2 separate regions of the Homo sapiens genome follow, and region 1 is linked to region 2. Evidence: promoter capture Hi-C in 16 types of primary human blood cells and fetal thymus (Javierre and others, 2016). All regions are on one chromosome and are shown on one strand. Each heading gives the region's core, a stretch centred on a gene start or on the middle of the fragment in contact. The rest is flanking DNA. Distances are from core to core; before and after follow the strand shown. Region 1 overlaps IFT74 (intraflagellar transport 74). Region 2 holds the start of TEK (TEK receptor tyrosine kinase).

Region 1 (3,801 bases), core at 1,280-3,779, 76 kb before region 2:
TATTATTGGCAGATGTCATGCTACTTTCCAAAAAGCCTGAACCCATCCTGATTTCTCCTTTCTTAGTTGAAATGCCAACAATTGCATATTTGCTTAATTATTGCTTTTTAAAATATTGGCTCTGTATAAGCAAGGGAAAGTAATAGAAAAAGTATTGTTCTTCCAAGTAAAGCAGAACACACCAAGTGGACAATAGCAGCTTATATTTTCACTCAACATGGGATACTATTTTTAATAAGGATGTTTTTATCCTCAAGGCTTACTTCTAACATATAGCCAAGTGACTTTTTTGTTTTTAAATGGAGATGAATCTTGCTGTGTTGGCCAGGCTAGAGTGCAGTGACTATTTACAGGCATGATCATAGCTTACTGTGGCCTTGAACTCCTGGGCTCAAGCAGTCCTACTGCCTCAGCCTTCCAAGTAGCCGGGACTACAGGTCCATGTTACTGTGCCCAGCTTGTTTTTGTTAAGGAATCTGTTAAGAAATTCTTTTAGGTCGTGTGCGGTGGCTCACGCCTGTAGTCCCAGCACTTTGGGATGCCGAGGTGGGCGGATCACCAGGTCAGGAGATCGAGACCACGGTGAAACCCTGTCTCTACTAAAAAATACAAAAAATTAGCCGGGCCTGGTGGTGGGCGCCTGTAGTCCCAGCTACTCAGGAGGCTGAGGCAGGAGAATGGTGTGAACCCAGGAGGCGGAACTTGCAGTGAGCCAAGATCGCGCCTCTATGCTCCAGCCTGGGTGACAGAGCGAGACTCCGTCTTAAAAAAAAAAAAGAAATTCTTTTATTCTTACTACAGATTAATACTTGAGAGTTTATATCTTATATTGAAGTCCTTCAGAGTAAATAGTTTCTTCGACCACTTAGCTGAAATCAGGCCCTTAACTTTACTCATTTTTTTTTTTTTTTTTAATGAGATAGGGTCTTTCTGTCACCCAGGCTGGAGTACAGTGGTGTGACAACATAGCTCACTGCAGCCTCAAACTCCTGGGCTCAAGTGATCCTCTTGCCTTAGCTAAATAAAATAATAAATAAAATAAAATAAAATAAAATAAAATAAAATAAAATAAAATAAAATAAATAAAATAAAATGTAAAATAAAATAAAATAAAATGTAAAATAAACTCCTGAGTAGCTAGGACTACAGGTGCACACCACCATGCCCAGCTAATTGTTGAAAACTTTTTTTGTAGGGACAGGGTTTTGCTCTGTTGCCCAGGCTGATCTCAACGTGCTTGGCTCTAGCAGTCTTTCTGCCTTGGCCTCCTAAAGTGTGGGGATTACAGGTGTGAGCCACTGTGCCTGGTGTTTTACTCTTTACTAGTGTATTCCCTTACATTGAATAAATTCTATAAAGAACAGCATTACTATTATAAGACATGTCAAAGCCTTACACAAATCACAAAAAAAGTGATCAGTTTTCTATGCAAAAATACTGAGCCTTTTGAAATCAGGGTAGTTCTCAGCTTCACCCAATGCTGGCTTAGATTTCAACTTTCTCAAGTCTGCTAGGTCAGTTACCAGTTCTCCATCTCCTTTCAGCTTCCAAAATGTTATTGCTGTTGTCTCCTATTTCTATATGCTGGGGGTTTCTACCTTTAAAAATTCTTTTTGCTATAGTTTTAGTGGGGTTTGCGGGAGGATCAAAATTAGATGTGCATGTTCAACGTGCCATTCATACCAGGAAATGACAATTATAAGCCTTAATTACCTAGAATTTCTGAAACTTTAAGCACCTTGAAGGTAGATCATTTTACTTATTTTTAAAAAGATTTTTTTTGTGTGTTTTGCCTTAAATGACCATCCTCATGCTTTCATTAACTGGGCAATTAGCCTCAGCTTATAGGAGGTCATCCTTTTCAGCTTAAAAAAAAAGTGTCCTGGCCGGGTGCAGTGGCTCACGCCTGTAATCCCAGCACTTTGGGAGGCTGAGGCAGGCGGATCATGAGGTCAGGAGTTCGAGACCAGCCTGACCAACATGGTGAAACCCCATCTCTATTAAAAATACAAAAATTAGCTAGGCATGGTGGTGTGTACCTGTAATCCCAGCTACTCAGGAGGCTGAAGTAGGAGAATCGCTTGAACTCGGGAGGCAGAGGTTGCAGTAAGCCAAGATCGCGCCACTGCACTCCAGCCTTGGGCGACAGAGCAAGACTCCATCTCAAGAAAAAAAAGAAAAAAAAAAGTCTTTTAAACTACTTAAAATTATTTTAAAGATTCAGATTAATTTTTTAAAATTGTAATTTTAAATATGAATCTGGCATGTATTTAACATGAAAAATGCAAGCAGAAAAGTATATAAAGTAAAATGTCATCTCCTTTCTCCTCATCCAAGTCTTCAGAGGTAATCATGGTTTACAGTTTAATGTTTAGGCTTTTAGACTTTTAATACATTGATAAACATATTTTTAAATGGAGTAATACTAATATACAGTTCTTCTGAGCTTGAGTCTTTTCATTTAACTGTATAATATACATTCTTCCCTATGAGGATGTATACTTCATTCTGAGAAATGGTATAGCATAGTGGTCAATGTTAGGGCTCTAAAGTCAGACTTAAGAATGGTGCCTGGTACAGGTGTGGTGGCTCATGCCTATAATCCTAGCACTTTGGGAGGCTGAGGGGGGTGGATTGCTTGAGCTCAGAAGTTCGAGACCAGCCTGGGCAACAGGGCGAAAACCTGTCTCTACAAAAAAATACAAAAATTAGCCAGGCATGGTGATGTGTGTTTGACTTGTAGTCCCAGCTATTTGCTAAGGTAGGATGATTACTTGAACCTCGGAAGTCGAGGCTGCAGTAAGCCGAAATCACTCCAACCAAAATCATGCCACTGCACTTCAGCCTGGATAACAAAGTGAGACCCTGTCTCAAAAAAAAAAAAAAAAAAAAATGGTGCCTGGTGCACATTAAGCGCTTCTGACAACCATTAGCTACCCCTATGATTGTTGTTACATAGGATTCATTGTATCCACATTGATATTTAGGCTGTTTCTAATTTTTTACTCCCAAGAACAGTGCTGCACTAGTACATTCATGTTTATAACTTGTCTGTTTATTTCCACAGAATAAATTTCTAGAAGTGAAATTTTGAATGGAATATTATTTATATTTACAACTGGTTTGCAAATTTCTTCCCAGAAAAGGTTGTATTATGTTATACAACCAAAAGCAGTATGTGAAGGTGGTTCCTTACCAATGCTAGCCATAAGTTTTTTAGTTTTTGTCAGTCAAGATAAGGTACACATCACTGACAGTTCCGAAGTTTTGACTGTTAGGCCTGAATTTGTAGTACCACCGCGATCCACAAGATGGGGCTAATTTTCTGAGCATCTATTAATATATACACAGTAGGATTGACAAATAGAGTTAACAAATGTTGTACGGTCACTGTCATATGTCTCTCCAGGAGGGATTATTGGGCATTATTACTCACCAAAAATGATTACTTTCCAGATTCAAGTATTTTCCCAAATGTGGAGTTGATTGTAAAACCAAATATATGATTATTAAAATACCATAATACATATAAATAACTAGTTGCTACAATGTGGTAAATATGTCATAATAGAAATATATGCAAAGTGCTATAGGAATATTGAATTACTGTCTTAAATTCTGAATGAATTCATTGTAACTTTCTGCATAATATATATGTGTCATTCAAAGTAGTAAAATAACAAAATATAATACTTTGGTTTGTCTATAGTATACTTTTTCATACTCAGAGTTCTAAAGCCTTGGTTAGGACCATTGTTTCTTTAATTATGGAGGGTAAAATAAACAATGTTAAAGACAGAA
Region 2 (3,639 bases), core at 695-3,194:
AATTAAATGGAATGAGCTTGACTCATGAGGAGGCCCCTTTCATTTTCCTGAAGTGAATTAATACAGCACCCACCGATCCTGACATTAGTTATTTCAGAAGCACACTAAGAACTGACCGCACTTCTCAGTGTCACCAAACTATTCTTATCTGTCAAAGTTTCATTTCAAATACTTCTGTAAGGTCTAGGTGTACCCTGCTGGTGTTTGTGATGTCCTACATTACTCTTGATCTACTTTTCAACTATGAAACAAGGGAAAAATTGGAGGTCCAGAGCTCAGGATTCAGATATTATTACCTCTGCTACTCACAGCAGAGCAAGTAACTTAGCCTGTGTGGAACTTCATTTTTCTTTCTTTTTTTTCTTTTTTTTTTTTTTTTTTTTAGACAGAGTCTTGCTCTGTCACCCAGGCTGGAGTGCAGTGGCACGATCTCGGCTCACTGCAACCTCTGCCTCCCAGGTTCAAACAATTCTCCTGCCTCAGCCTCCAGAGTAGCTGGGGTTACAGGTGCACGCCAGCAAGCACAGCTAAATTTTGTATTTTTAGTAGAGATGGGGTTTTGCCATGTTGGCCAGGCTGGTCTCAAACTCCTGACCTCAGGTGATCCACTCCCAAAGTGCTGGGATTATAGGCGTGAGCCACTGTGCCAGGCCCACTGTTTTTGTTTTTTTTTTTCGTGATGACAAATTTAAAGTCATCTCATAGGAATAGAAAATAGCTTTTTAGTAGAAGCTCTTGGAATTTAAATTGAGACTGAATGGAAAGATGAAAGAAAATAAACTTATTAACATTTAATGAGAACCTTCAAAGAACTAGGCATAGTACCAAATGGTTTTATATTTTTAAACCTCATTTATTCCTCTCAAAACACCTGGGAAGGAGATATTTTTGCCATTTCACAGCTGTTGAAACTGAGGCTCAAAAAGACTAAGTAACTTTTCTCAGCTACACATGTGGCTGAGCCAGTATTTGAACCCAGTTCTGTTTGCAGACAGAACCTGGGCTTTTTCACACCTGCAAACTGGAAACATTAATTGGTTCTTAAGATCATCATCGATGTGATAAAACCTGGGACAGAAATTAGTCAAGACTAGCTGCATCTGCCTTTTCCTCTGGTGGGTAGGAAAAGGAGGAGTATAATGATTTCCTCAGGCATGAAGGTCGATGATGAGCAAAGTGTATACTCTCTAATCTAATGTCATAATTCATATTGTGGAGTAATTATCTGGATAAGTGTAGGGTCTCTGACCTCATTCTAGATATTGTACATTCCATGGCTATTTTCATTTTGGTCCATGAACTCTCTTTGCTCTCATGAGCACCATTTTTATCCCAATCTAATCCTGTATGTTTGTGTTTTTACACAGATTAGTTTTTAAATGTTATATATAATTTGCTTCTGAAACACCATTGCTCAATGACTACCAAATCTTTCTCATTACCAAAATCCTTCTATGCCAACTTCTTCAAGAAATTTGATCACCTTTAGATGAATTGTTAATGAAAATTAAAGCTATAGCCGGCAACATGGGTATCTTTGGGCTAATGGCCAACCAACAGGCCATCTGTGTGAAAGAAAACAGGCTAACAATTTTGGACTCTGGTCTCTTGGGGCTACATTGAGCATTGACCTCACCGGTGCTCACTGAAATTAATTGCTTTTCAGGTTGTATTTTCTCATCACGGAAACCTTCTTCTCCCAATTCAAACCATGTGGGTTAAAATGAGAAAACAAAAGCCAAAACGGCTTCCCACACCCAAAAGCTCCTTCTGTCAGAGATCCCAGTAGCCCCGGGAGAGCTGTTAGAAGTCTGAGAAGGATTGGTCATCATCGCATACCATACATAGGTGGAGGGCTTGTTATTCTCAGTTTCCCGCCTATGAGAGGATACCCCTATTGTTTCTGAAAATGCTGACCGGGACCCACACTTCCAACAAAAATTCCTCTGCCCCTACAGCAGCAGCAAAAGCAGCAGCAGAAGCAACAGCAACAGATAAGTGTTTTGATGAATTGCGAGATGGATAGGGCTTGAGTGCCCCCAGCCCTGCTGATACCAAATGCCTTTAAGATACAGCCTTTCCCATCCTAATCTACAAAGGAAACAGGAAAAAGGAACTTAAAACTCCCTGTGCTCAGACAGAAATGAGACTGTTACAGCCTGCTTCTGTGCTGTTCCTTCTTGCCTCTAACTTGTAAACAAGACGTAGTAGGACGATGCTAATGGAAAGTCACAAACCGCTGGGTTTTTGAAAGGATCCTTGGGACCTCATGCACATTTGTGGAAACTGGATGGAGAGATTTGGGGAAGCATGGACTCTTTAGCCAGCTTAGTTCTCTGTGGAGTCAGCTTGCTCCTTTCTGGTAAGGTTTGGCTTTATTTTTTTTAATTTAGTATTTTAAAAAACAGAGTTAGTGATTTCTGGGTGCTCTCCCCAAATCTCATCAGTGCTGATGAACAAGGGGTGGCTGTAGCAAAGGCACCATTTCTCTGTGAGTCTCCAGTCAATATGTGTGGAAGGATTGAAATGCAAAGGCTCTGTGGCATGAACTGATTTTGCTAGTTTGTCTTCTGGGTGATTGGCCCCTGTGTTAGAAACTCTTTGAGGACCGATTAAATCATCTTATTTGAAGAGATCCCCTTACTATCATGCATTATTTTCCTGCTCCTCATTCTGGAGTGTTTTTCTTATTGATTTTTTTTTTAAAGAACAAACCGGTTTTACCTGCTTTAAAGAAAATCTTCAGTAAAAAATGAAATTCATGCTGAGAAATACAGGGGCCCAATTAAGGCAGTGTATAGATTGTCACTGTTAAAAGGGAACAAAGATGCTTTTCTGTAAAAAGATTTTATATCTACATCCTATTTTAAGCAAAGCAATGAAATTGTAGGCTTTTTTTTTTTTCTTGTAGTTAGGGTCAGGGAGATTGGGGCTATTAGAATTTTTGTTTTATTTTAAAAAATGTTTGCCATGTAGTAATTCATAAAGGGTTTACTGGCCCAATGAAACAAAAATTTAGGCAGTTACCAAAATCTTTAACACAGGAGAGTATATGAAGCCTGTTGTAGAGTGAAGGAGTGGTTGGCCAGTGTGTTGGGTTCAGCGTGTTTATTGCTTAGATACTCCAGATAGTGGTGTGCCTCTGTAGCTCACTCAGCCTATGTGACATAGGTAGAAGGCAGTATCCAAACCTGAACTACATATCACAAATACATTTATCATTGCCATCAGTCTCTCCCCTTCGGTTTGAAAACATTCTAATTTTAATAACGAAAATCGAATTGATATTGGAGATGAATTTGGGAAAATTCACTAAACTTCATGGATATAGGGCATATTAATATAATTTGATTCGAGTATACATAAGTATCTGCTATATTTTCTAGGTGTTTGAACTATTTTATTAAATATTCAAAAAACAAATCCAATGAAATAACTGAGTTGAATACAGTTTGTTTTATAGCTCTCAACAACCAATATTTTGAGAATTTAATAATATTCTTTAAGAATGTGTAACACAAGTTGCTAAAAATTAAAAGATTTTAGGTGGCTTCAGTATTTATGTGGAAATTGTTTAAATAATGTTGACTTCTCCAATAATATGTACTTCAAATAATTATCATGATTCCATTTTTGATT

Evidence for each region. Contacts are between HindIII fragments. The CHiCAGO score rates a contact against its expected background, and 5 or more counts as called.
Region 1: a fragment that was not itself captured here is called in contact with the fragment with the promoter of TEK in region 2 in 1 of 17 cell types (endothelial precursors); the score reaches 6.7 in endothelial precursors.

The regions. Positions count from the first base shown.
Region 1 is chr9:27,030,702-27,034,502 of GRCh38, forward strand. The region is part of intron 13 of IFT74 (intraflagellar transport 74); the gene reads left to right. Among named protein-coding and RNA genes, the nearest start is that of LRRC19, 27 kb to the left of the region's middle. The HindIII fragment of the contact is 6,282 bases long and covers 1-3,801 here.
Region 2 is chr9:27,107,281-27,110,919 of GRCh38, forward strand. TEK (TEK receptor tyrosine kinase) reads left to right here and starts at 1,945. Exons shown (of 23, transcript NM_000459.5): 1 at 1,945-2,362. The coding sequence starts at 2,311. The HindIII fragment of the contact is 9,085 bases long and covers 1-3,639 here.